4 separate regions of the Homo sapiens genome follow, and all the other regions are linked to region 1. Evidence: promoter capture Hi-C in 16 types of primary human blood cells and fetal thymus (Javierre and others, 2016). All regions are on one chromosome and are shown on one strand. Each heading gives the region's core, a stretch centred on a gene start or on the middle of the fragment in contact. The rest is flanking DNA. Distances are from core to core; before and after follow the strand shown.

Evidence for each region. Contacts are between HindIII fragments. The CHiCAGO score rates a contact against its expected background, and 5 or more counts as called.
Region 2: a contact is called between a fragment that was not itself captured here and the fragment with the promoter of CD300E in region 1, in 1 of 17 cell types (M2 macrophages). The highest score is 5.0, in M2 macrophages.
Region 3: a fragment that was not itself captured here is called in contact with the fragment with the promoter of CD300E in region 1 in 4 of 17 cell types (M1 macrophages, megakaryocytes, M0 macrophages and 1 more); the score reaches 7.2 in M1 macrophages.
Region 4: a contact is called between the fragment with the promoter of GPR142 here and the fragment with the promoter of CD300E in region 1, in 3 of 17 cell types (monocytes, M2 macrophages and total CD8 T cells). The highest score is 10.2, in monocytes.

Annotation. Positions count from the first base shown.
Region 1 is chr17:74,621,691-74,626,594 of GRCh38, forward strand. It overlaps CD300E (CD300e molecule), which reads right to left and starts at 2,048. Exons shown (of 4, transcript NM_181449.3): 1 at 1,892-2,048. The coding sequence starts at 1,931. It overlaps LOC101928343 (a long non-coding RNA gene), which reads left to right. Exons shown (of 4, transcript NR_158152.1): 4 at 3,837-4,306. The HindIII fragment of the contact is 4,294 bases long and covers 1,390-4,904 here.
Region 2 is chr17:74,345,301-74,350,011 of GRCh38, forward strand. It overlaps KIF19 (kinesin family member 19), which reads left to right. Exons shown (of 20, transcript NM_153209.4): 8 at 1,078-1,224; 9 at 2,477-2,599; 10 at 3,884-4,049. Among named protein-coding and RNA genes, the nearest start is that of BTBD17, 14 kb to the right of the region's middle. The HindIII fragment of the contact is 2,750 bases long and covers 187-2,936 here.
Region 3 is chr17:74,287,744-74,292,768 of GRCh38, forward strand. It overlaps DNAI2 (dynein axonemal intermediate chain 2), which reads left to right. Exons shown (of 14, transcript NM_023036.6): 5 at 1,851-1,993; 6 at 3,277-3,390. Among named protein-coding and RNA genes, the nearest start is that of DNAI2, 16 kb to the left of the region's middle. RefSeq lists an enhancer at 1,355-1,855. The HindIII fragment of the contact is 3,992 bases long and covers 502-4,493 here.
Region 4 is chr17:74,364,911-74,369,500 of GRCh38, forward strand. GPR142 (G protein-coupled receptor 142) reads left to right here and starts at 2,596. Exons shown (of 4, transcript NM_001331076.1): 1 at 2,596-2,884; 2 at 4,558-4,590. RefSeq lists an enhancer at 3,210-4,198. The HindIII fragment of the contact is 12,679 bases long and covers 1,428-4,590 here.

The sequences.
Region 1 (4,904 bases), core at 798-3,297:
CTATTACTAGGTTAGCCTTATTCTTGACACCTCCATGGCCAATGGAAAGAGCTCTGTGGAGGACACAGATCTGGACTTCATTTCCAGCTTGTCTACTTAGTTCTTATGTCATCAGATCTCCCTTCATCATCTTATTTATAAAGTGGAGTCAATGCTATTTGCCCTGCCTGGGTCACAAAACTGCTCAGAGGGTTAAATTCTATCATCTATTTGGAAGTGTTTATAGGTTATAAAAATGTGTAATAAATAGAATTCTAGTTTTGCTCTTTTTAAATTTTTTACTTTTCTTTTTTTGTAGAAATGGGGTCTTGCTATGTTGCCCAGGCTGATCTCAAACTCCTGGGCTGAAGCATTCCTCCTGCTTTGACCTCCCAAAGCACTGGGATTACAGGTGTGAGCCACCTCACTCAACCAACGTTTGCTTATTTTGTATTTGAATTTGCTTCCTTCCTCTTTGTCATTTCCCCTCCCTGCTAGAATTGCCCTTTCCATCTCTCTTTCCCAGTTAAGATTTTCAGAGGGACCTGCGCAGGTCACATTGCGAGTCTGAGGATGGGGAATGAGATAGGGGTGGAAAGAGAGATGGAAAGGGCAAAGAAAAAGGAAGCAAATTCAAATACAAAATGAGCAAACATTGGTTGAGTGCAGTGGCTCATGCCTGTAATCCCAGTGCTTTGGGAGGTCAAGAGAGGAGGATTGCTTGAGCCCACGAGTTTGGGTCCATGTCACCTACCTGGTCTTCTTCCTTTAAATCGCTGTCATTTTCACTCACCCTTCTAGAAAGAATCTTGTCATTACATTGGGCAATTTCTATGTTTTGTGAGGGAACTCAACCATAAAATTCATTCTGCAAACATGAAGAATGTCCTCTAATTTTTAGCCTAAATTTATTTCCCCAGAGACAAATGTGTTTTCCTGCAGTTTTGTATTTTGAATGTCTATTAATAAGAGTTTCTCTTCTGAAGTCCAACCTTTGCAGGACAGTTTCATTTACTTGTTTACACCACACCTTGTTCCGGGAAGGATTTAAGGTAGATGTTGAGGATGGCATTTTTTTTTTTCAGACAGGATCTCAACTCTATCACCCAGGCCAGACTGCTGCAGTGGTGCAATCTCGGCTCACTGCAACCTCCGCCTCCCAAGTTCAAGCGATCCTCCTGCCTCAGCCTCCCTAGTAGCTGGGACTACAGGCATGCATCACCACGCCCAGCTAATTTTTGTATTTTTAGTAGAGACAGGGTTTCACCATGTTGGCCAGGCTGGTCTCAAACTCCTGACCTCAGGTGATCCACCCACCTTGGCCTCCCAAAGTGATGGGATTACAGGCGTGAGCCACCACGCCCAGCCCATTAATTATTTCTCACAAACCATTCCAACCCCTTTACACTAAGCTTCGTCAAAACAGAACTATTGTTAATTCTTGAACTCTCCATGGTCTTTAATGTCCTCACACTTGCACATAAGCTATTCCTTTCCCACTCAGCCAACTCATTCATCCTGCAGGATGGACTTCCAATGAAGCCTCAGTGACATCTCCCACCCTTCCAAGAGCAAAGTGAGGGGTTCCTGTTGCATACTCTCATCACCACATGAATGAGTCTCTACAACAGTAATTTCCACATTGTATTGTAGTTAGTTGACTCCCTCAGTTCAGAAGTTACTCTTAATTACAGCACCCAGAACAGTCCTGGCACATATCTGGTGCTCAGTAAGTGTTTGTAGGATCCGTGGATGAATGATTGAATGTATAGAAGGATGCACAGGTGAATGAACGGATGTATCTTTCCCTTTTCTGTGGACACTTCACCTCTGGTTTGAACCCAGGACAGCTCTTCTACCTACTGTCCTGCCCCCTGCAAAACCAAGTCCCCAAAGCCACAGCCCCACTCACCTGAGAGGCAGAGAAGGAGTAGAGCTGGGAGCAGCCACATGTTCCTGTCTCCTTGGCTTCCGTCCTCAGCAAATCTAGGTCCCAGCTGGAATCCAAGTATATGTAACGGAGCCTGGGTCATCCACTTTCTACTTGTCCAAGTTTCCTTTGTGTTCTCACTCATCTATTTCCTCTTTTGCCTTTTAAAGAATGCTTCCTAATTTTAAGCCTTACTTAGCAGAAGAGAAAGGGTGGCAAGAGACGTTTCTGAGAATGGACCAAGCACAAACAGGAAAATCTGTTGGCCTTCATTTAATGTGAACGTAATGTTTGAGTCACCCCCTGAGATTTCATGACTCGGAATTTCATGAAAGTCAGTCCCAGTTTACGAAACCTCTCCAACAGAGAAAACTCTGTTCCCTGCCTCTTTCACTCTTCTTCCTATCTGGGATTACTTCATCGATCTAAGGAGCTTCCCTTCTCTATGGCTGCCTACTTTTGAATCATAAAACACCCTCTACTTAAGGAGCTGTGGTGATCACTCCCCATGTCTTTCTCAACCGTTATCTCCATGCGGATGACTTCACACCTCTTCCTCTAACCCAATATCCCAATATCTCTCCTGGGCTCCAGATCCTACTTTCTAACTTCCTATAGGGAAGCTCCACCTGGTTATACACTGTTAACCTAGTTCAGTATATGGGTCATGGTCAACAGCATAGATTCTGAAGTCACACAAACTCAAATCTCATCTCCATCATTTATTAATCATCTGACCTTGGGCATGTTGCCAAATCACTCTCCTCCTCAGTCTCCTCATCTGTAAAATAGAGTACTCATGACAATTCTTTCTCAAAGGGTTGCCACAGGAAATAAATGAGTTAATGTAAGTAAAGTGCTTGATACAGTGCCTGGAACATAGTAACTGCCCAGTTAATATTAAATACCTTTAGAATAGTCCTGGACCATTGAAATAGCTTCTCATCTGGTCCCTCCACTAGCTATACATTCTCTCTAATCCAACTTGCACATCAGAAGATACTCTTCTCTAAGACATAGCTATCTGAAAATATAATTTCTTTCCTTCTCTTTCCCCAGAGATACCCATCTTTGATACCCACAGCCTCTAATCTTTACTATCTTTTAGAACTCTACTGGATCATCTGATATTTCAAACTTTTGTTGTAAGAGCACAACTTCTTATCTTTTCTGTACCACCATATCTGATGAAGTATTATATAGCCAGGCATGGTGGCACGTGCCTGTAATCCCAGCTACTTGGGAGGCCAAGGCAGGAGAATCACTTGAACCCAGGAGGTGGAGGTTGCAAAGCAATGAGCCAAGATCACACCATTGCACTCCAGCCTGGCAACAGAGAGAGACTCCATCTAAAAAAAAAAGAAAGAAAGATGAAAGAAAGAAAGAAAAAGAAAGAAAGAAAGATAGATAGATTATATATAGAATAGAGCCCTGGATGGAACAATAAAACACCAGGACCCTGGTCCCATGTGTGACATGAGCCACACACTTGAGGGATCCAGAATGAGCAGAGCTGACAGTAGCCACAACATTGTGTCTTAGTCCATTTTCTTCTACTATAACAGAATACTACAGGCTAGCTAATTTATAAAGAACAAAAGTTGGCAGGTGCAGTGGCTCATGCCTGTAATCCTAGCACTTTGGGAGGCCGAGGCACGTAGATCACTTGAGGTCAGGAGTTTCAGACCAGCCTGGCCAACATAGCAAAACCCTGTCTCTAACAAAAATACAGAAATTAGCCCTGCATGGTGGTATGAGCCTGTAGTCCCAGCTACTCAGGAGGCTGAGGTGGGAGAATTGCTTGAACCCAGGAGACGAAAGTTGCAGTGAGCCAAGATCACGCCACTGCATTTCAGCCTGGGCGACAGAGAGAAACTCTGTCTCAAATAATAATAATAAAAAAGAACAAATTTGTTCACCTTCCTAGCTTTCTGAAGATGAGAAGTCCAAGAGCATCGTAGTGGCATCTGACAAGCGTCATTCCATGGCAGAAGACAAGACAGCAGGCAAGCCTCCTAGACAGAGAGAAAAAGGGGACTGAACTCAGCCTCTCAGGAAACCACTCTCACAATAACTAACCCACTCCGGAGATAACAGCATTAATCCACTCGGAGGACTGAGCTCTCATGGCCTAATCACCTCTTAAAGACCTCACATCCCAATGCCATTACATTGACAGTTAAGTTTCAACACGAGTTTCTGAGGGAACATTCAAACCATAGCAACCCTTGTGCCATTTATTCAGCAGAGACAACAGTTGCAGGCTTCAGTTCTTTCCACCAAGAGGACCAAACAAATCTTCAGCCTTCTTGGTTCTGCTTTTATAATGTTTTCTTCTGGTTCCTTTTTTGAAAATCTTATCCCTACAGTTGTTTATAAAATAAAAGAAATGGGAATAAGCAAAGGCATGTGTTGATGGTTGAAAAACTATAAACTCACCATGTCTAATATAGGCACATTTCATTATAATCCAATTAGAAAATCCAAACTCCGACCACCTAGTAAGACCGAGTTGACACAGAAGCTATCATCTGGTTCCAAACTGAAGTCAAATCCAATAAAAGGAAATTCCAGGTATTAGAAATGTAAAGGGAACTAAAAGCCAGGTCTGTGAGCAGGATCTGATACCAAGAGGCTAATGGGGACCAGTCAAAATGAATTTGGGCCTTAGGAGGAGAGGGGCTGCTGTTTAAATAGCCACTCAGGGACAGAAGACAATGTCTCAGGTCTACACAAGACAGGGAGTGGGAGCAGAGCCCCCTGCCAAAAGCTAGGATCCATGAATGGTCATTACGCCCATGGAACAGGATGAGGGGAGACCCCATTGATGGGCTCATGGGAGTATCAAGGCATCTCCACTCCCTGTAGTTATAAGGAGTTACCTTCCATGAGAACAAGCACCTAAGTTGCACTACACAGGGGTGTGAGATCCAAAGTACAACTTCCCATCGTGTGGGAGTGTGGACAAGGACGTCAATATAAAACAGGTTGGCAA
Region 2 (4,711 bases), core at 312-2,811, 280 kb before region 1:
GCCCTAGGGGAGGGATCCAGGAAGACAATGAATGGGCCCAAAGGAGTAGTTGGAGGCAGGGAGAGACAAGCATCCCCTGACTGGGAGGACTTGACACATCCTGGGAGAGGACCCAGCCAGTCACATCACAAAGAGGAGAAGGTCCCCGTCACCCATTTCTGGCAGCATCTTTGTCCCCTCTCATGAAGCTTGGCTTTGTGGCAGCACCTTTGTCCCCTCCCATGAAGTCCTGCTTGCCGAGCTCTGCAGCCTTGGTGGCAGCACCACCCAGCTGGTGTAGGTCTGGGCTCCCTCGTGCAGGCAATCTTGGGGGTTTTATGGTCACCTGAGCAATGAGGCTGGGTGATGTCACCATTGCTGGCACTGGAACAAATGCAAGGGAAATGACAGTGCCAGAAAGAATGAGCAGTCTTTTGTCTTTGAACATCTGGGGTCGGATCCGAACAGGGCAGGTTCAAGAAACTTACCCCTCCCTTCCAGTAAAGCCTGGGGGGCTTCCTGGAAGGCACACAGGGGAGAGGCCTGGGAGGAGAGAGAGTGCCCTTCAGCCACTGGAGCGAGCTGGTCCCGGCTTCTCCAGGCTGGGCAGAGCCACCTCCTAAGGGGAGCTGCAGGCAGGGCCTCCTCGGCTTTGACATGCTCCTGCAGGCCCAAGAAAAGGAGAAGAACCTGCCCTCCACCACCATGCACATGTGCACGCACTTTCCTCCTTGCTCCCTGGAGCACCCTCTGGAGCACCAGTGGTCCTGCCGGCTCCCAGCTGAGCTGCCTGGAAAGCAACCTCCCTCCCATCTCATCCATGGCACTGTGTGTCAGGCCGTGCCACGGCACCTGCCCTGAGGAGAACCGGCCATCTCAGCCCTCCTCAGAAGCTGTCAGCCCATCACTCTTGTTCAGAGGCCTCTGGGTCTCTTAACCTTCTCCAATGCCCTCAGTGGCCTTGGCAGGAGGACGGCCACAAGGTCCTTGGGGGTTTATTACCCAGGATCACCAGGTCATTCATTGGTGGGGTGGCTGGGGAGAAACCCAGTCCCCTGCCTCATCAGGCCACACGTGTGCCCTTTGCTCGCCCCCTAGACACAGAATCGTGGGCAGCGTATGAAGGAGGGGGCCCACATCAACCGCTCACTGCTGGCACTGGGCAACTGCATCAACGCCCTGAGCGACAAGGGTAGCAACAAGTACATCAACTATCGCGACAGCAAGCTCACCCGGCTCCTGAAGGTACCAGCCACAGCTGGGCCTGGGCACTGGGCACCAAGGGTGAGGCTGCCAGATTAAACAAATGAAAATACAGGGCACCCAGCTAAATTCCAACCTCAGGATACACAGCAAAATTTATTTTAGCGTAAATATGTCCCATGAAATATTTGGGATATTCTTATGCTAAAACAAAGTAATTGCATATCTGAAATTCAAATTTAACTGGGTATCCTGTATTTTATCTGACGACCCTAACCAAAGGCTGGGCAATGGGAAGGAAAAGGAGCACGTGATACCCCCACCCAGGGCTGTGGGTCAGAGCCGTCTAGATTTGGGGGTGCAGGTGGGCAGTCAGCCTCATGGCCCCACAGGTCAGCTGTTTGGGGGTGGCCTCCTTTGTGCAGGGGTGTCCTTGGCCTTAAATTATAGCAGCATCACTGAGCGCCCACTCCTGGCTGGTCTCTTGAATTCAGTACTTCACTCTATTAGCTCCTTAGATCTCGTCAACAACTCTATGAGTTTGAGGGATTACATTTGCAGATGAGGAAACTGAGGCACAACTCAGTTAGGTAATGTTCCTAAGGGCTCACACTAGTAAGTGCTGAAAGTAGGATCCAGTCAGAGGCCTCCCTGATCTAATATCAGAGTCACCGCTTACTTAACATTGCCAGCAGCTGCCGTCATGACTGCACCTAGAAGCCGGGGAGGTGGGGACAATTGCAAAAGGACTGCCCCCTTAAAAAGCAAGGAAAGCCGGGTGTGGTGGCTCACGCCTGGAATCCCAGCACTTTGGGAGGCCGAGGCAGGTGGATCACTTAAGGTCAGGAGTTCAAGACAAGCCTGGCCACCATGGTGAAACCCCATCTCTACTAAAAATACAAAAATTGCCCAGGCATGGTGGCAGACGCCTATAGTCCCAGCTACTCGAGAGGCTGAGGCACGAGAATTGCTTGGACCTGGGAGGTGGAGGTTGCAGTGAGCTGAGACAGCGCCACTGCACTCCAGCCTGGATGACAGATCGAGACCCTGTCTCAAAAAAAAAAAAAAAAGAACTAAAGAGGTGAATGAGCTTTATTAAGGTTACACAGCTGGTAATTGCTGGAGCAGGGCTTTCTTCCTCCCAAGCCTCACACCATATGACGCTCAGCAGCCGGGTCCCTTAAGTGTAAAGAGACAGAGAGATTGCACTCGCCAGGGAGGGCATCGTGAACAGCCTGGCAGGAGGAAGGCCTGAGGAGGCAGTCCCCACTGACCACAGCCACCTCCCATCCAGGACTCTCTGGGAGGAAACAGCCGCACAGTGATGATCGCTCACATCAGTCCTGCGAGCAGTGCCTTCGAGGAGTCCCGGAACACCCTGACCTACGCCGGCCGGGCCAAGAACATTAAGACTAGGGTGAGGGCCCCTGGACCGTCCACCAGGACACACCTTCCTGGGCTGAGATTCAAGCCCCCGGGCTGATCCCTGCCACCCCACTGCACTCTCTGGAACCAGCCACTGCTGCACTGGCCTCATTCCCTAGTTGATCGTCACCTGTACACTTTCCCTGCACCTCCAAACCCTGCTCCTCTGCCGGGAAGCCGACAGCTCCCAAGGGTCCCCGCTTCCTCCAGTCCCAGGACTGTGCTCCCCCTGCCTCATCCCCTCTTCTCTTCCCTTCCTCGTCTTCAGATGCTCATTTAGACCTTTGCATTTCCAAAGCACCTCTTCATGATGGTCATCACAGGAGGCAAGCTTCATTGAGCACTTGCTCTGAGCTGTTTCACATGCTACCTCCTTTGATCCTCAAAAAACAGCAGTATTATTGCGGTTCCCATGTACAGATTAGGACAGCAAGGCTTAAGGAAGTTAAGTGACTTCCCAGCTGGCCAGTGATGGCGCTGAGGATGGAAATGAGATCTGCCCCGTTTCCAAGTCCGTGTCCTCACCTGTCTGTAAGCATGTCGGAACCCTTGCCATCCGCTTAGAAATCCATTTCCACCTGTTCGTGTGTGGAGGAGTGGGAATGGATTCATGTATGATAGCATGTAGGGAACATTCTCCCAACACCTAACACTTGCCAGCTGCTGCCCTGAGGGCTGTAAGTTTTATTCCAACCCCTCAATGGGGGACGGGAGACACATTCTTGAAACAGCTCATTGATGGTTCAGAATATTCCTAATAGCAGGTAAATGATGCCAATGGTAGGTGCTGGGGCAAGACAGGAACAGGAGGTGGGGGTGGCCTGGTGGGGTCCAGTGGAACTCTCTGGAGACTGTGAGTGGGACCCTGAAGGCTGGGAGGACATTCCAGAAAGGTGGGAGCAGGGAGAGCACAGGTTCCAAAGGCAGGAAGGGGATGGCGTCTGTGGTGGGTATGGGGAGAGCAGGACAGGTCTTCAACTGGAGTGGGATGTTCATGCAGGAGCGGTGAGCCCAGAGAAAATCAGAGAGATGGGGGTGGCCCTTCAACAACGGGTGGAGGAATGAGGACGTTCCCCGCAGGCATTAGGAAGCCACTGAAGGTTGATGAGATCTAGCAGTGAGTGTGACAGGAGGTTGTGGAAGTGGAGGAAAGGAGGCCATTACTGTCACCCAGAAAGACTGGGGGAGGCAGGGGGAAGAAAGGCCCTGCAGGCAGGCCTCGGTGAGTGCACCTGGGGTGACTGCATCCCCTCCGCTCCATACGTGTTCCCTGCAGGTGAAGCAGAACCTCCTGAACGTCTCCTACCACATCGCCCAGTACACCAGCATCATCGCTGACCTGCGGGGCGAGATCCAGCGACTCAAGCGCAAGATTGATGAGCAGACTGGGCGGGGCCAGGCCCGGGGCCGGCAGGATCGGGGTGACATCCGCCACATCCAAGGTGCGCCTGTGGGTCTGTGTGAGTGGCAGCCCCCTCCGGCCAGCCTCACGTTGCTCTGGGATCAGGCCATGTTGTGTTCAAATCCAGAATCGGGCTCTTTCTGGCTGGGTGGTTGAGCTAGGCACTCACCAGCTCTGAGCCTCCTAGCATTCAGCTGTTAAATGGGGTTGTGATCTCTGCTTCAGACAGTTACCAGAGATCACAAGCCGATTTCCCAACCCCACCTTGGAAGAGTAGGTGGGATCCCACGAGGGAGAGGCACGTGAGCAATGAGCTGCGCAGGGCGCACACTAAGGGCTGTGGCGTAGGGCTGCGAGGTCATGCCTGCACCCCCGGAATGGGCTCCGTTTCCTTGTAGACCTGCATATTTGCTATGATGGTTTTCCAACAGACAGTAAAGCTTTTTTTAAAAAAAAATTTACTAATATAAAGAGAGAGGCAGACAGTAAAGATTTTTTTTTTTTTTTGAGACAGAGTCTTGCTCTGTTGCCCAGGCTGGAGTGCAGTGGCATGATCTAGGCTTACTGCAACCTCTGCCTCCCGGGTTCAAGCGATTCTTCTGCCTCAGCCTCCCAAGTAGCTGGGATTACAGGTGCCCGCCACCACACCTGGCTAATTTTTGTATTTTTAGTAGAGACGAGGTTTCACCATGTTGGCCAGGC
Region 3 (5,025 bases), core at 1,248-3,747, 330 kb before region 1:
CAGGAGTTCAAGACTAGCCTGGCCAACATGGCAAAACCCCGTCTCTACTAAAAATACAAAAATTAACTGGGTGTGGTGGCACATGCCTGTAATCCCAGCTACTCGGGATGCTGAGGCAGGAGAATCACTTGAACCTGGGAGGCGGAGGTTGCAGTGAGCCGAGATCGCACCACTGCACTGCAGCCTGGGCAATACAGCAAGACTCTGTCTCAAAAAAAAAAAAAAAGCAGTGCAACTTCTTATGTGCTGATATGGAGTCATTTCCAGGATTCAGTATGTGAAAACCAAACCAAAACAAAGCCGGTGCAGAACAGGGTGTGCAGAGTGCCACTTTTTGTGGCAGTCCCCAACTTAAACCATTTTTTGTCTTTGCAAGGCTGCAAAAGCAATGCAAATCCAGGAGAAACCGTACTTCAAGTACCCATACAACCATTCTGTTTTCCACCCTCAGTACAGTATTCAGAAAATTACATGAGCTGTTCACCTCTTTATTATAAAATAAGCTTTGTGCTAGGTGATTTTGCCCAACTATAGGCTAATATAAGTGTTCTGAGCACATAGGCTGGACTAAGATGTGATGCTGGGTAGGTTAGGTGTATTCAATGCATTTTCAGCTCCTGATATTTCCAACTTACTATGGGTTTATCAGATGTAGCCAACATCATTAGATAAGGAGCATCTGTATATGTGTATAAATATATGCATATGTGTATGTGTGTATATATGTGTAGATGTATGTTTACATGCCTGATGTGAGGAGAACATCTGTGATTTTGGACTTCTGGCATCCGGAACTGTGATAGAATCAATTTCTGTTGTTTGAAGCCACGCAGTTTGTGGGACCTCGTTGCAGCAGCCCCAGGAACAGAATACCCCATCCCAGAGCACCTTTGTAGGGTGTACAAAAGAAGCTGATAGGAAGGAGAGCTTGGGAACAGGGATGGGGAGAAGCCTGGGGAAGAAGGACTCCTCGGCCTTGAAGTCTGGTGGAAGGAGTTGCAGAAAGTGGGTGGAAGTGAGAAAGACCATGCTCTGTGGCCTCGGTTTTGACCATGAAGAAAAAAGCAAGGCCGTCCAATCAGATGAGTGGAGATGAGCAGGAGGCTGGAATAGAGCAGCTGGGGAAATGCGGAGGGGAAGCCTGTGGACCTGGGGCAGAGGACAGACCTTGGGTCTGGGTGATGCAGGACTAGGGGTGTGAAAGGTGTTTGGGAAATGACTTGCCTCAGATCCCAGCTCTGGGGAATTCATTTCACTACCACGACTGACTTAGGGGCCTGGGAAGTACCTAGCCCAGTCCCAGCACAGCAAGAAAGAACTCTTTTCTGAGGCAGGGCTGACTCATGGTGTGCAAGCAGGGCCAGTGGCTGTCAGCAAGGGGTGTGCAGGAGAGGGCATGGCGGGGCAGAGGCTGCCCTTCCTGTTGCCCTCCAGCCCTGCTGGGCTCTAACCTCGTATATGGACCACCAGAGCAGGATGATGCATTAGAAATCATCCGAGGGGCCGGGCACTGTGGCTCACGCCTATAATCTTAGCACTTTGGGAGGCCCAGGTGGGCATATCATCTGAGGTCACGAGTTTGAGACCAGCCTAGGAAACATGGTAAAAACCTGTCTCTACTAAAAATACAAAAATTAGCCAGGCGTGGTGGTGTGCGCCTGTAATCGTAGCTACTCGGGAGGCTGAGGCAGGAGAATTGTTTGAACCCAGGAGGCAGAGGTTGCAGTGAGCCGAGATTATGCCACTGCCTGGGGGACAGAGCAAGACTCCATCTGACAAAAAAAAAAAAAAGGGGGAGAAATTGGGGAACCTCACATCCAGCCTTCTGCTCTCTTCCCTCTCCCCTGCAGGGACCCCCAGGAAATCAAGAGGGCTGCCACACACCTCTCCTGGCACCCCGATGGCAACAGGAAGTTGGCAGTGGCATACTCCTGCTTGGATTTTCAGCGGGCACCTGTGGGCATGAGCAGCGATTCATACATCTGGGACCTGGGTGAGAAGCAGCGGGGTCCTGGTGGCCTGGGAGGGCTGAGGGCTGGGACCAGCACAAGTGGAGGAGCGGGAGGGAGGGGCAGGAGGTCAAGGACACTCACGCGGTTGGTGCCTCAAGGGAAGGGCCCGCAGTCGAGGAGGAACACACTCTTCTCCTTCCTCTCTTGTCTGGTTTCAGGCAGAGCCAAGCAGAGTCAAATCAGAAGCAGGAAACCCCCACCAATTCCAGATTCTTAGTTCGAGGCATGAAGACCTGACCCCATGGGATCTCAATTCTTAGCTCCTAAGGAGCATATCAGGCCGGGCTCGGTGGCCCATGCCTGTAATCCCAGCACTTTGGGAGGCCAAGGCAGGTGGATCACCTGAAGTCAGGAGTTCAAGACCAGCCTGGCTAACATGATAAAACCCTGTCTCTACTAAAAATACAAAAATTAGTTGTGCTTGATGGTGGGTGCCTGTAATCCCAGCTACTTGGGAGACTGAAGCAGGAGAATCGCTTGAACCCAGGAGTCAGAGGTTGCAGTGAGCCGAGATCATGCCACTGCACTCCATCCTGGGCAACAGAGTGAGACTCTATCTCAACAGCAACAACAAGACAGAGTGCCCAGCAGACTGAGAAGGGACTCAAGGGGCGGCGGAATGGAACTTGTGCCTTTGTCCCATCTGTCCTGACACTTGCCTTTAATTCATGGCCTGCAGGGGCAGCGTGTCCATTTATTAGCACAAACCATTGTCTACAGAAGGGCTGGCAAGACACAGGCAGGGACAGGGTGGTGGTGGCTTCACGCTCTCCAGCTTCCCTTCGTTGTCAGCATTATTAAAATAAACATGTAGGTGCCAGGCAGAGAGCTAACGCCCGACATTCCAACAGCTCAGCGAGTTCTGGCAGCAGCCCTATGGGGTGGACTCCGTCATTATCTGCAGTCCACAGACCTGGTTGGAAGAAACCGGCAGAGAGTTGACTTTGTGTAAAAACTTTAGTATCAAAACCTCGTTTCACACCAAACCTAGGAACTGGACTAGAAATATAATTATCACACACATACGCACACCCCAATCCTGTTCACCAAAAATAAAAACCATCAGCAAAGCCCCTAGGGTCAAGAATGCCAGATTCTGGCCAAGGTGGACCAGGGGGTGCAGGCTGGGGAAAGACTGGAGGGGCTTCCAGGCTTCCCCCTCTGCCACCATGCCCCCGCTACCCACCCGCAGAAGGGGTGAAACTGGTTGATCCTGTCCTTTTCTTTCCGGGCCTGGTGGGGATAATTTTTTTGTGCTTTATAGAAAACCCCAACAAGCCTGAACTTGCTCTGAAGCCATCGTCTCCACTCGTGACGTTGGAGTTCAACCCCAAAGATTCCCACGTACTCCTGGGTGGCTGCTACAATGGACAGATAGGTAAGGAGGGACCTAGGCTTTTTTATTTTTATTTTTATTTTTTTTAGATGGAATTTTGCTCTTGTTTCCCAGGCTGGAGTGTAGTGGTGCAATTTTGGCTCACTGCAACCTCCGCCTCCTGGGTTCAAGTGATTCTCCTGCCTCAGCCTCCCGAGTCGCTGAGATTACAGGCACCCACCACCACACCTGGCTAATTTTTTTGTTATTTTTAGTAGAGACAGGGTTTCACCATGTTGGCCAGGCTGGTCTCGCACTCCTGACCTCAGGTGATTCACCCACCTGGGCCTCCCAAAGTGCTGGGATTACAGGTGTGGGCCACCACACCTGGCCGGGACCCAGATTCATAGTCAGAGCCAATCCTGCTGCTATAGGGCAGAGCCCACATGGCAGCCTGGGCTCGGCCACAGAAGACTAAGTGGGGTGAGGGCCTCCCATAGCTGACCAACTGCAGACACGGGTGAGGCAGGTTTGGCTGACACCTCAGCAGTGTCTCCTGTTACTACTGTAAGTCTAAAATTAGCTCAAAATAAACAGTTTTAAAAAACTATAGTTCAAGTAAAATCAGAGAATATTTGACTAGGGGCCGCCATAAAGGGATGATGAGAGCGTTGGGGAGCCCTATTTTGGGAGAGGTTTCTGGGAAACCTACATGCTAACGGATATGGGTAATACTGGCCTTATAGAATGAGTTGGGAAGTATTCCCTTCTGGAAGTTTGTGAAGAATTGATATTAATTTTTTTTTTTTTTGAGATGGAGTCTCGCTCTGTCGCCCAGGCCGGAGTGCAGTGGTGCAGTCTCAGCTCACTGCAGCCTCCACCTCTCGGATTCAAGTGATTCTCCTGCCTCAGCCTCCTGAGTAGCTGGGACTACAGGCTCATGCCACCACGCCTGGCTAATTTTGTCTTTTTTCAGTAGAGTTAGGGTTTCACTATGTTGGCCAGACTTGTCTCAAATTCCTGACCTCAAGTGATCCTCCCTCCTTGGCCTTCCAAAGTACTGGGATTACTGGCGTGAGCCACCATGCCTGGCCGCTATTAATTCTTGAAATGTTTGGTAGAACTCATCAGTGAAGCCATCTGGTCCCTGGCTTTTCTTTATTGGAAGCTTAAAAGTTACAATTCAGTCTGTTTATTTGTTATAGATCCTCTTCACATTTTCTGTTTCTTCTTTAATTGCTTTTGGTAGTTTCTGTCTTTCTAGGAACTTTTCCATTTCATCAAGTTGTCTAGTTTGTTGACATTTAATTGTTCACAGTATTCCCTTATAATCATTTTCTTTTTCTTTTTTTTTTTTTTTTTTTGAGACAGAGTTTTACTCTGTTGCCCAGGCTGGAGTGCAGTGGTGTAATCACTGCTCATTGCAGCCTCGACCTCCTGGGCCCGAGCAATTCTTCCACCCCAGCCTCCCGAGTAGCTGAGCCTACAGGCATGTGCCACCACACTCGGCTAATTTTTGTAGTTTTTTTAGTCACAAGGTTTCATCATGCTGCCCAGGCTGGTCTTAAACTCCTGGGCTCAAGGGATCCGCCTGCCTTGGCTGGCCTCCCAAAGTGCTGGGATGAACCACCACACCTGGCCTGATTTCAGTCTTTTAAAATTTATTGAGACTTGTTTTATGGCCTAGCATATTGTCTA
Region 4 (4,590 bases), core at 1,346-3,845, 260 kb before region 1:
CCATGTTGGCCAGGCTGGTCTCGATCTCCTCACCTCAGGTGATCCTCCCGCCTTGGCCTCCCAAAGTGCTGGGATTACAGGCGTGGGCCACGGTGCTTGGCCAAGTCTTTGAGAGGAAGAATCTGCAGCACTGCATATATATATATATATATATACACACACACACACACACACACACACACACACACACACACACACACACACATATATTGGCCCCATGGATCTGGGAGCGCCATAATTCCTTGAAGGCAAGTCTGATGAATTCACAAGCCAGCACCATCCTAGAGAGGAGTGTTACTTCCCGCCCCAGACGGGAGTGTTTATAGCCCAAGCCATGTGTCTGAGGTCTTATGACCAGGAACCTCAGAGGCAGGATTTATTTTTCGAGTTCTGAGTTGTGCTTGACTTTTCTTTTTTCTGATTTTTGTTGTTGTTGTTGTTAGATATGGGGTCTCACTCTTTCACCCAGGCTGGAGTGTGGTGGCACTGTCATAGCTCACTGCAGCCTCAAATTCCTGGGCTCAAGCAATCCTCCAGCCTCAGCCTTCCAAGTAGCTGGGACCACAGGTATGAACCACTGCACCTGGCTACTTGACTTTTCTTTCCACAACCCCATGTTGTGTTTTTGTTTTGTTTTGTTTTGTTTTGTTTTGTTTGAGATGGAGTCTCACTCTGTCGCCAGGCTGGAGTACAGTGGTGCGATCTCAGCTCACTGCAACCTCTGCCTCCTGGGTGCAGGCGATTCTCCTGCCTTTGCCTCCGGAGTAGCTGGGACTACAGGTACCCACTACCTGTAGTGGCTGGCTAATTGTTGTATTTTTAGTAGAGACGGGGTTTCACCATGTTGGCCAGGATGGTCTCGATCTCCTGACCTCGTGATCTGCCCGCCTCGGCCTCCCCAAAGTGCTGGGATTACAGATGTGAGCCACCATGTCCAGCCCATGCTGTCTTTTTGGGGAAGTTTTTCCAATTGTGATAAGTGATCCCTTTGGACAAGGAATCTCTAGTACTGTAAAAGCAACGGAAAACTCTTGCAAGCTTGGGACCAGATAAAGAGTTTCTGAATCTGCAAAGGGGGTGATCAGACACTGGACTGTGGTAACACCTCAGAGGGGTGGGCTCCAGACGCAGCCTGGCCCTACCTGGCACCCTCCCTTGCATCTGTAGTGCCTCCTGTCCTGACTTAGGGTTCCCTGAGTCACTGGGCCACTTGGACTGGGGACAGGAGATCATGGGTTTAAGTTCCAGGCCCCGTGTACACAGGGGAGCACATAAAGGTAAATATGAGGCCGGGCATGATGTCTCACACCTTTAATTCCAGCACTTTGGGAGGCTGAGGCGGGTGGATCACTTGAGGTCAGGAGTTCAAGCCCAGCCCGGGCAACATGGTAAAACCCCGTCTCTACTAAAACTACAAATATTAGCCAAGCTTGGTGGCTGGTGACTGTAATCCCAGCTACTTGGGAGGCTGAGGCAGGAAAATCGCTTGAACCCGGGAAGCAGAGGTTGCAGTGAGCTGAGATTGCACCCCTGCACTCCAGCCTGGGCAACAGGGTGAGACTCTGTCTCAAACAAACAAAAACTTAAATAAGAAGGAATCCTTGGCCAGGTGTGGTGGCTCACATCTGTAATCCCAGCACTCTGGGAGGCCGAGGCAGGTGGATTGCATGAGCCCAGGAGCTCGAGACCAGCCTAGGCAACATGGCGAAACACCGTCTCTACAAAAAATACGAAAATTAGCTGGGCGTGTTGGTGCTTGCCTGTAATGCCAGCTATTTGGGAGGCTGAGATGGGAGGATCACTTGAGCCTGGGAGTTCGAGGCTGCAGTGAGCTATGATCACACCACTGTACCACAGCCTGGGTGACAGAGTGAGACCCTGTCTTGAGGGGTAGGGAGGCAGAAGGAAAAAAAAGAGAGAGAGAGACCCTGGTGCTCAGGCCTGGTGGCTCTGGCTGGACTGATCAGGGCTGAAGACTTCAGAGACCAAAAAGGTCAAGGTGTGGCCGGGTGCGGTGGCTCACACCTGTGATCCCAGCATTTTTGGGAGACCCAGGTGGGCATATCACCTGAGGCCAGGAGCTCAGGACCAGCCTGGCTAACACGGTGAAACCCCGTCTCTACTAAAAATACAAAAATTAGCCAGGCATGGTGGCAGGCACCTGTAATCCCAGCTACTTGGGAGGCTGAGGCAGGAGAATCACTGGAACCCAGGAGGCAGAGGTTGCAGTGAGCCGAGATAGCACCATTGCACTCCAGCCTGGGTGACAGAGCGAGACTCTGTCTCAAAAAGAAAAGAAAAAAAAAGTCAAGGTGTGCGGCTGGGTCTTCATAACATCTTTCACCTTGCCCAGGCTGGCTCAGAGGTGACTGCCTTAGTGGATAGGATCCCTTCCACCGTGGGCTAGCAGCCTACCCTGGTCACTGACACCACACCATGTAGGAAAGAATCGCCACCACCAAGAAGGGGCCTCTCACCTCTGTATAGGCTGTGTGCTGGCTGATGACGTGGTTGCCCTGTCCTGTCTGCTGCTGCCACTGAGCTGGACATCTCCAGGCTCCATCTCTTGAACCATGGATCCCAGCGTTGTTAGCAATGAGTATTATGATGTTGCCCATGGAGCAAAAGATCCAGTGGGTCCCCACTTCCCTGCAGGACATCACTGCTGTCCTGGGTACAGAAGCATATACTGAGGAAGACAAATCAATGGTGTCCCATGCACAGAAAAGCCAGCATTCTTGTCTCAGCCATTCCAGGTGGCTGAGGTCTCCACAGGTCACAGGGGGAAGCTGGGACCTCCGAATAAGGCCATCCAAGGACTCCAGCAGTTTCCGCCAGGTGAATCCAGCTGCCTCCCAGAACAGGCCTTCTATGGGGTGGGATGGTAAGTTGCTGGAAGGACGTGCATGGGGCATCATTGTAGCAAACTCAGTCCCCCTCCTCCATCTCTCCCTCTCCTCGCTCTGAATCCAGGGAGCTCTAGTTTTCTGTGTAGCCTGTGTGACAGCCTTGGTTGAAACCCTTGTGTTCCGTCTGAAGAATATTTAAGGTTTCCAGTCAAGTGTACATCCCTCAAAGAAACAAAGTGGGCTTGGCATGGTGACTCACACCTGTAATCCCAGCTCTTTGAGAGGCCAAGGCAGAAGGACCACTTGAAGCCTGGAGTTCCAGACCAGCCTCGGCAACACAGCGAGGCCCCAAACTCTCTCTATATCTATACATAAAATTTAAAAAACAAAGTGTAGGGACAGGGTGGGCACTCGGTAAATGTTGGCAGGGACCCTCCTTGCCCCTCACCCATGGCAGCTCCTTGAAGAGAGGGTCAGCCTCCTCTCACCCCTAGCCTCCTGCTGCAAGGAGGTGGTGGCCTGGGGCGTCATCTGTGCTACTTGCACTTTCTGGGGCTGGGGTCCCAGCACTCCACCAGAGGACCTGCCCTGAGCGGGCAGCTCCGTCTCCAGTCCCACTGTGCCACCCAGGGTGCCTAGCCAAACCATGGGACTTTCAGGCTTGCAGGGTCAGGATGTGGCCACCAGGGGGCAGCAGGGCCTGCGCTGTGAGTATCCGAGGGGGGGTTGGGATGGGGAGTTCCAGGCTCTGATGTGAGATCTAACTCCCAGAGCTGGGAAGCTCCCTATATTTCCTGCCATATTTTCTGCTGCATTCCCAGAGGACAGGCCATGGGAGGTGATTCCAGGGGGGCCTGAGCTCTCCTCCCGAGACCGTCCACGGGGCATCCATGTCCCGGGTACCTGCTTGTGGGCTGCTCTGGTCACTCTTCCTCTAGGGCAGGAGAGCCAGTCTGGCCTCTTCTGAGTGCACACCAGCAACGGCTGTTGTTTATTTGCCAGGGATTGATATTCTTGAGGGATGGTCCATTTCACCAGGGCCAGGGAAACAACAGCTTGCAGGACTGTGGTTTCCCAGCACCGGCTGCAGGCAGCCTCGTCCGGCTGCTCCCAGAGGATGCCCCACCCTGTGCACGGCTGCCTGCCATCCTGCCCCTGGGGGTAGCCTCCACCTCCCCCACCATGGCCACTGCAGGACTGACCCTGTGCACCTGGTCCCCTGAGCCTCTTGGGATCATAGCCCTGTCTGTGGCAGCCTTACCACTCCTACCTGGCACGACTTCCCCAACTCCTCACAGAGGTGCCCTACTCTCTTCCCTTTCAGTCTGGATGCTCATAGAGTCAGCACCCTGAGTCCTTCTGCCTGTCCCCAAAGTCCTCAGCCCCAGGTTTGACCCCAGCTGAACACAGGCCAGCTCACAGAGTGCCCCGGGGCACGAGGCAGCCCCCCAGAACCCCCATCCTGCCATCCTGCCTCTTCTCCTCACTTCCTGCTCCCCCAGGCATAGACATACCTGTGAACCCCATGCCACCCTCAGCTCGTCTCTCCTGAAGCTGAAGCCCCTGCCCAGCCCGACCCCTTCCCCTGCCTGTGCGCCTTAGAGCACCCTGGTTTGCTCCACCAGCATCTACTCTAGCTCTTTCCCCGGTGCCTCCGCCCACCAGTTCCTTCCTCCTCCTTCCCCCGCCCCGCCCCCTGCACTAACAGGCTCAGTGTCTGCGTAAGGATCCTGGGGCAAAC